Linked DNA regions of Homo sapiens: all the other regions are linked to region 1. The links are contacts of gene promoters, found by promoter capture Hi-C in blood cells and fetal thymus (Javierre and others, 2016). All regions are on one chromosome and are shown on one strand. The core of a region is centred on a gene start or on the middle of the fragment in contact, and the rest is flanking DNA. Distances in the headings are between cores, read along the strand shown. Region 1 holds the start of ZC2HC1A (zinc finger C2HC-type containing 1A). Region 2 overlaps MITA1 (metabolism induced tumor activator 1). Region 3 has its middle 120 kb from the start of PKIA.

Region 1 (2,700 bases), core at 157-2,656:
AATAAAACCTTATCATATTATATATGATAATCTCATGAGAATTCCATAACCCATGCTTTAATCCCACCAAGATACAAAAGTATCTTGAAAGTAAAATATACTGTACTATCATTACAATTCCTTATTTCATGGAAACTTGAATTATCTTCCAAAAACACATAAGCAAAAAACAAGACCTTCATTAGGCCATAGCATACTGCAGCTGTCCACAAACGGAAAATTATCAGAATCATTTATCAGAGCAAAAGCACGAAATAAACTTCTACTCATGTTATTACATCTGCTTTTTGGTGAATAGGTGACTGAAAAAGTTACCGGCTACCACTTTGCACTTCATCACACAATGTAGAATATTTTACTCCCTGGCATGCAACAATACACAAGACTCAAAAGCTTCTGCTCATTCTTAATTCCAACTGAATCCGTGTAAACTAGGAGACGGGGGAAAGGAGCTAAATCAAGACAATAGGATCTTTCAATTCTGAAGGTTTGTTCTTCATCATAACAAATTAAAAAATCTTGAAACTGTTGTTGCCAATGCTAGTTATTGTGGTTTTTGTCCTTCCTTTGTTTTTAGGTGAATGCTTTCATTACACAGGATAAAATGGGTAAACAGAATAGAGAAAAAGTGAAAGAACTGGGAACAAAGCAAAATCTGGAGTCATGGTTACAGTACAAAGATAAACCCAAAGATAAGGAACCAATACAGGCTCTTCCTCACACAGCGGCCGTGAATAAGTCATCAAATCCTCCGGGTAATCTATTGTACCGGCTCTAAAGCTGGCCAGTGACACTTCCTTAGGAGATGCTCTGACATCCCTCCGACAGAAGATGCTGTCGAAATGTAAAAAGCCGGTTACCTAGGGAAATCGGCCAAGGAATGTCAGGAGCTCGAGGCTGGAGACACACCCCGGGGCTGCAGCACAAAGTGGCCTGTTGGTGTTAAGGCCGTGGACAATAATGGAGAGAGTCCAGTACAAGGAAAACAAAATCTGGCCAGAGACTGGGATCACTAAAAGGGCACTCAGGAGTCAAGCAAGATCAGAAAATGGTAGGAAGAGACGTGCAGGCGTCTTGCCAGGGGCAGGATCTGGCTCCGGGCGGGAAAGCCCAGTTGAAGACCGTCTGAGGCGGGGCAGCCTGGTAGCGTTAGCTCCACCGCATCGGGGACTGTCCGGTTCCCTTCGGCCCCAGCCTCCGGAGGCGCGGCGGGACGCGGCGAGGTCCGCCGCACCGAACCAGCCCTCGCCTTCCTGCTACTGGTGTCCAGGGTCCCCAGCTGTTTCGGGCCCGCTCTAGCCGTCCTGCCCTCATCCCTTCATCGCCTCACCTTCCAGTCCCTCCATCGCGCCACCTCCTCGAGCTCAGCGAGACTCCTTCAGCAGCGCCCGCCACCGCCCAGCTCTGGCTGTAGCAACCCAGCCGCACCTCCCACCCGCTAACATTCCGAGCTCCCATTGGTTCCGCAACTGCGGGGGCGGGGATCCGTGGGGGCGGGGCCGCGGCGGAGGCGAGGTTCCTGCGGTCTCCTCCTGGCTGCCACCCCTGTCCGTCTCTCCGGGTTACTCTCCAGGGAGCCGGGAGCCGCTTCAGGTTGCAATCTGCGATGCAACGGCGCCTTTGTTTGACTCCAGCCTTGTTTTGCCTCATACCTTATCCTCCTATTTAGAGTACCTCAGCACCTCATGGGCTCCGCTTCACCAGTTCCTCAATCAGTCAATGCCTCTGACTTCTAGCCGCCATCCCTCCCAGTGGATACTTTAAGCAGGCAAGCAAACCAAACAAACGCCCAGCACGCTTGCATGCAGCAATCTCCGTTTTCCGGTCTTTGGTCGCATGACTTGACCTCAGCGTATCCCCTACACTTGATCTTCACACACAGCTTCATAGGTTAAGACACTTTTTTTCCAGAGAAATCATACTTTCTATCTGCGATTGTGGAACTGCGATTGCTCTAAGCCCTTGAAAACAGTTTCCTCACCATGAAAGCTTGGGCCAAAAATTAGAAGTGAAACCCAGCCCTCCCTCTGTCTTCTACTCTTGGCCTACCTTGGCCCTATACTTTATCATCCATAAACCAAAACAGTCGCCTGGCCTGACAATGTTTGATCGGGGAAGTTTGAGTTGGGGAATTAACCTACAACCTGACAGAATGAGGCCCGCCCGTCTCTAACAGAGTTCAAAACCTCCTGAAGATGAAAGTAACTTCAAAACTAACTCAGACCATTTTAACGGTTTTGCTTACAATTACCAGAACTACATTTCTTTGAAAATTTGATTTAGCAATCGTAAACAAGCTGTACTGTTTGCTGACTATAGCGTATCTACTGGCAAGTTACCAGTATTAATGTGTTGTCCATAACAAACCTCGGATTAATGTTATTGTTAATCTGTTTAATTGAAGAGTTTAACTTCATATCTAACTTCATCTACTATGAAATCAGTTACCTTCAGGAAGCAGGATTCCTCCTACTCTCCACTCACATGAAGGTATGTTTAAACAAGCAAACACTTGAGGGGGCATCATCTCTTACTGAGAAGGTGCTCCAAGTGCATTTGAATGTGGTAGAGTCCATCTGTTGTGTGGAGCCATGTAAAGACCACTTCAACCATGCCTCAATGACTCCCTCCGCCCTTCCCTGGTTCCCCTGGCTCTTCTGCTTCTCTGAGATCCTGGGCCTCCTTGGCCAACCCATAGCC
Region 2 (2,700 bases), core at 55-2,554, 270 kb before region 1:
AAAAACAGTGACAACAACAACAAAAATCCCAATAATGATAATAAAGGAGCTGGGAGGAAACTTTGGGAGATGACAGGTGTACTATGGCCTTGGTAGTGGTGATGATTTCATGGGTTTATACTTATCTCCAAAGTCACTGTGAGATTGTATATAAAATAGGTACAGTTTTTAAACATGTCAATCATACCTGAATAAAGTGGTTTAAAGACAAAAACAATATATTCTTCATAAGCAGTTCCACTTACTGTATTTTTTTTCTAATATGAGAGCAATTCTCCAGAAACTTCAGCTGTGGGAAAATAAGAAAATCACTGCCAAAGATTTGGCCCATTGCCTTATAAATTATTGAATATATCGGTTATTAAATTTGTAGCCTACAAAACCACTTCTGAGATAACTTGGCCTGCCTAGCATAGAGTTAAGCTTAGAATAATTTTCTAGCTACCAAATTTCAGGAAGGATTTGATTTTATTTGGTTAATTATGGAGAACAACAAGCTTTATTAGGATTTCATTATAGTCCTCTGAATCCCATGAGATTTCCATAGTTAGAAATGAATTTTTAAAGTCTTGCTGAAATAGCTTCGATTATTTCTTGAGGTTTTTTAAAAATGATACTTTACTTTGGTGGCTTATCTGTTGTTGACCTTAAAGTGACCATAATATACTTTTTAATATTTTCTTCAAAATAATAATGATAAGCACAATACAGTATTTTTAACCATAGGCACTTAGCTGTATAGTAGATCTCTAGAATTCATTCATGTAGCATAATTGAAACTTTATAACCATTGAACAACTCCTCACCTCTCTTAACTTGCCCCTGACAACCACTGTTATATTCTCTGCTTCTATGAGTTTGACTATTATAGATACCTCACATAAGTGTAATAATAAACTATTTACCCTTCTTGAATGGCTTCTTTCTCTTAGCATAATGTCCTTCAGGTTCATCCATGTTGTCTCAAATGGCAGGATTTTCTTTTTTTTAAGGATGAATAATTCCATTGTATACTACATTTTCTTTATGCATTTATCTGTCAATGGAAACAGGTTGTTTTCATATCTTGGCTATTGTGACTAATTTTACAATGAACATGGGAATGAAGATGTCTCTTTGAGATCCTGATTTCAATCCCTTTGAATATATACCCAGAGGTGGTATTGCTGGATCATATGTTAAGAAGGTAGATTTCCTGTTAGGTGTTCTTCCCAGGAAAATGAAAGAAAACAAAAACAAAGGGACACAAAAAAACTTGGAGAAGTTGCATACATCTATTACCTTGAGTGGTGATGGTTGTGTGGGTATTTGCATACATCCAAATTCATCAAATTATACACCCTGAATATGTGCAGTTCTTTGTATATCAATTATACCTCAATAAAGCTGTTAAAATTTAAAAATATATATATAATAAAATAACAAAATAATGATGAAGCCAACACATGTTAAGAATTTATCATATGCAAGGCATTCTGAGAAACTCATCACAAGGATTACTTCATTTAATACTCACATAGTCCTCTGAAGTAGTTGCTATCATTATTCCAGTTTGCAGATGAAGAAATGCAGGCACAGAGAAGGAAAATATTTGGCCATGGGTCACACAGCTAATGGACTTAGTTCTGTATAACTGCAGAACTCATACTGTTAGCAACTGTGGTTGTCTGTAATTAATTTAAAGATAGAATAAGTTAAATCTGGTATTTTCATTTCATAGTGTTTAATGTCCTAATGATTAATTTTTAAGTGTATAAATTAATGTTTTATTATCTTCAAAAGCAAATAAAGCAAGCATTTTTTTATTGCTATGATCCCAATTTTTTCTCCTCTACAAAATTGATAAACAATAATAAAGTGTTCCCATTTCTGATTTATAACATAATGCAAAATGTATTGTTTTCAAATTTCTAAGATAAGAATAAAGTTATTTTCACAATTAAATATTTTAGAAGAAGAAGAGTGGTATTCGGGTATTCTAAACTAATAACTGGCATTTCCTTATTTTCCTTCTCTCCTTCATCTTTCCTTCCCTTTGCCTCTCATTAGCCCACCTTTTACATGTACGTTTGGGTGCTTCTTTCTCGGGCTTATAATCACATAAAGCTTTCTATAATTCAATATTACTCTAAATAGTCATCCTCATTTGAGTGAGACTGGCAAACAGGTAACAAGAACAACATTAGTCATTATTTTCATCTTCTTGACTATTCTCCTTCTCCAAACATCTTTTGCTTCCCCCTTTTAAGAAAGAAATTATGGATATAAGTGCACTTTAATATGTTTACCTAACTGGAGGTTTATGCCATAGCAACATGGCTCAGTGTCTCTTCAGGAGGTATATTCCCTGTCTCCTCCCTTTCCTTTCATCCCTGTCCTTGTATTTGTATGCAACTCTTCCTCTCTCTGACCCCCTTCTTGTTTAACATTCATTCTTCTCTTCCATTCAAGAAAGGAAATGTAGAATGGGAACATAAAGTGGCATTGGAGCAAGACTAGAAGTGCTATGTTTCTCCAGGGAGATCATGCGGCCAATGGAAATACTTTAGTACTGGTGCTTCTTTATTAGCCCAGGGAATTATAAGGGTATTTCAACCTGCTCTTTGTAATAACTCCGGGGAATAATAAACAGGGAAGATCAGGGAGAAGAGCCGCCATGTTTGGTATGGTAAAGCATGCAACGGAATCCATAGAATTTGC
Region 3 (2,700 bases), core at 79-2,578, 270 kb after region 1:
TACAAGTCAAGGAGCTCTATGTGAAATTGTAATGTTGGTAAAGCTTGATTTTGACTTTGCAGCCTATGTGGTGATACATTTTCCCCCAAGTGTATGAAAGATGGTGGTGGGAAGAGGCTAGGCCTGTTTCTGTGGAACCCAAATTTTCTTTGCCAACTGCCAACTTTCAGTATTAGAAAAAGATTTCCTTCGTTAGAAAGGGTTTTGAGTTGATAAAATGCAAGTATTTCTATAAAAATGCAAGTATTTTCAAAGTGTGTAAAATATAGGGCATTATGTGTTTTTCTGAGTTGGTATGAGTTGAATTTCATTGGCGCAAACTGGAGTCTCTCTGTTATATGTGTATGTGTGTGTGTGTCTGGGCATGTGAAGGCATGAGCGTGTGTGTGTAAATCTATTGAGGATACAAAAAAGACCCTGGATGGAAACAGCAGTGCTATAGAAAAGGGGGGAAGAGTATAAAAGACAAACTTAACCTACTTAGTTTCTCCTTGCCTAGGGGTAGTCTTATTTTCTAGGATTCTTTCATGATCTATTTACTAAATGCCCAGTGTCCCTAGGTGCCTCTGTGAGTCTTACAAACCTCTCAGTAGCCTATGTGTGGGAGGTGGAACCTTGACATTTTGCCTATTCGGGTTTCCTTTCTCTGAGAGTTTTTCTCTGAGCTACGTGATAGGTAGATTTCTGGTGAAAAACTGTACTCATTGTTAACAAGAAATGTCTGACTTAATGATTCAAACAAATAAAGAGTATCTTGACTCAAGTGTGAAGCACCTCTAGGCTTCATGTAACAGAGATACTTTGAGACAGGAAGATCTTTCAGTATCCACTAAGATCATAGTACAATACTATTGAGTAATTTGAAGTCTAACCTTGTTCAAATGTGGGAAGATATATCTTGGATTGCATCATTGTCTGCTTATCCCCTTACACACATATCAAATAGCTTAAAGTTTAAAAAAGTAATACTAGAAAAAAGTCTGTGTTTAAGGTAGGCATGTTATTATGTTTATTTTCCCCGGCACATAGTAGATAAAGGTGTACCTTAGAGATACTGTGGGTTTGGTTCCAGACCATGGCAATAAACAAATACCACAATAAAACAAGTCACACAATTTTTTTTTTTTTTTTTTGGTTTCCCAGTGCCCATAAAAGATATATCTGGAGGGGCAAGGTGGCTCATGCCTGTAATCCCAGCACTTTGGGAGGCCTATGGGCGGATCACGAGGTCAAGAGATGCAGACAATCCTGACCAACATGGTGAAACCCCGTCTCTAGTAAAAATACAAAAATTAGCTGGGTGTGGTGGTGCGCCTGTAATCCTAGCTACTTGGGAGGCTGAGGCAGGAGAATCGCTTGAACCCAGAGGCAGAGTTTGCAGTGAGTCAAAGATCACGCCACTGCACTCCAGCGTGGCGACAGAGTGAGACTCCATCTCAAAAAAAAATTATATTTATACTATACTGTTGTCTATTAAGTTCACAATAGCATTACATCTAAAAAAACAATGTACACCTTAATTAAAATATTGCTAAAATACACAAAACTCACTGAGTAGTAATCTTCTTGCTGGTGGAAGATCTTGCCTTAGTGTTGATGGCTACTGACTGATCAGGGTGTTGACTGTGGTGATTTCTTAAAATACACCAACAATAAAGTTTGCCACATTGATTGACTCTTTGTTTCACAAATTATTGCTGTATAGCATGCAATGCTATTTAATAACATTTTACCCAGAGTAGAATGTTCTTCAAAATTGGAGGCAATCCTCTCAAACTCTGCTGCTGCTTTATCAACTAAGTGTGTGGAATATACTTAAATTATTTGTTCTTGTTTTGACAATGTTCGTAGCATCTTGATCAGGAGTAAATTCTGTCTTAACAAACCACTTTCTTTGCTCATGTGTAACAAGAAACTCTTCATCCATTCAAGTTTGATCGTAACATTGCAGCAATTCAGTTACATCTTCGGGCTCCACTTTGGATTCTAGTTCTCTTGCTATTTCTACCACATCTGCAGCTACCTTCTTCACTGCAGTCTTAAATGCCTCAGTCATCATGAGGGTTGAAATCAACTTCCAAAATCTATTTAATGTTGATGTTTTAAACTCTTCTCATGAATCACAAATGTCCGTAATGACATCTAGAATGGTGAGTCTTTTTCAGAAGTTTTCAAATTTATTTTGCCTAGATCAATCAGAGAAATCACTATCTATGGCAGCTGTAGTGTTATAAAATGTATTTCTTAAATAATAAGACTTGAAAGTAGAAATTACTCCTTGATTCATAAGCCGCAGAATGAATGTTGTGTTAGCATAAAAACATTACTCTCTGTGTACATCTCTATCAGAGCCCTTGGATTACTCGCACATTGTCAATGAGCAGTATCTTTTGAAAGTAATCCTTTTCTTCTGATCAGTAGGTCAACAGTGGGCTTAAAATATTTGGAAAACTGTGTGGTAAACAGATGCGTTGCCATCTAGGCTTTATTATTCTATTTATAGAGCATAGGCAGGGTAGATTAGATTTAGTATAATTCTTAAGAGGCCTAGGATTTTTAAAATGGTAAATGAACATTGGCTTCAGTTTAAAGTCACCAGCTACATAAGCTTCTAAAAAAAAAGCTCGTCCTTTGAAGCTTTGAGACCAGGCCTTGACTTTTCCTCTGGCTAAGACAGTTCTAGATGGCCTCTCCTTCCAT

What was found. The method cuts DNA at HindIII sites, captures the fragments that hold promoters and counts their contacts. A CHiCAGO score of 5 or more calls a contact.
Region 2: a contact is called between a fragment that was not itself captured here and the fragment with the promoter of ZC2HC1A in region 1, in 1 of 17 cell types (total B cells). The highest score is 6.8, in total B cells.
Region 3: a fragment that was not itself captured here is called in contact with the fragment with the promoter of ZC2HC1A in region 1 in 7 of 17 cell types (naive CD4 T cells, activated CD4 T cells, non-activated CD4 T cells and 4 more); the score reaches 12.7 in naive CD4 T cells.

What each region holds. Positions count from the first base shown.
Region 1 is chr8:78,664,795-78,667,494 of GRCh38, reverse strand. It overlaps ZC2HC1A (zinc finger C2HC-type containing 1A), which reads right to left and starts at 1,406. Exons shown (of 9, transcript NM_016010.3): 1 at 1,331-1,406. The coding sequence starts at 1,346. LOC105375911 (a long non-coding RNA gene) reads left to right here and starts at 1,516. Exons shown (of 4, transcript XR_007060972.1): 1 at 1,516-2,490. RefSeq lists enhancers at 1,253-1,302, 1,267-1,774, 1,775-2,283 and a silencer at 1,373-1,592. The HindIII fragment of the contact is 1,596 bases long and covers 396-1,991 here.
Region 2 is chr8:78,932,710-78,935,409 of GRCh38, reverse strand. It overlaps MITA1 (metabolism induced tumor activator 1), which reads right to left. Exons shown (of 3, transcript XR_002956715.2): 2 at 1,517-1,667. All of the region lies in intron 2 of LOC105375912 (a long non-coding RNA gene), which reads left to right. Among named protein-coding and RNA genes, the nearest start is that of LINC02605, 97 kb to the right of the region's middle. The HindIII fragment of the contact is 1,609 bases long and covers 500-2,108 here.
Region 3 is chr8:78,390,397-78,393,096 of GRCh38, reverse strand. No RefSeq gene overlaps it. Among named protein-coding and RNA genes, the nearest start is that of PKIA, 120 kb to the left of the region's middle. The HindIII fragment of the contact is 2,565 bases long and covers 46-2,610 here.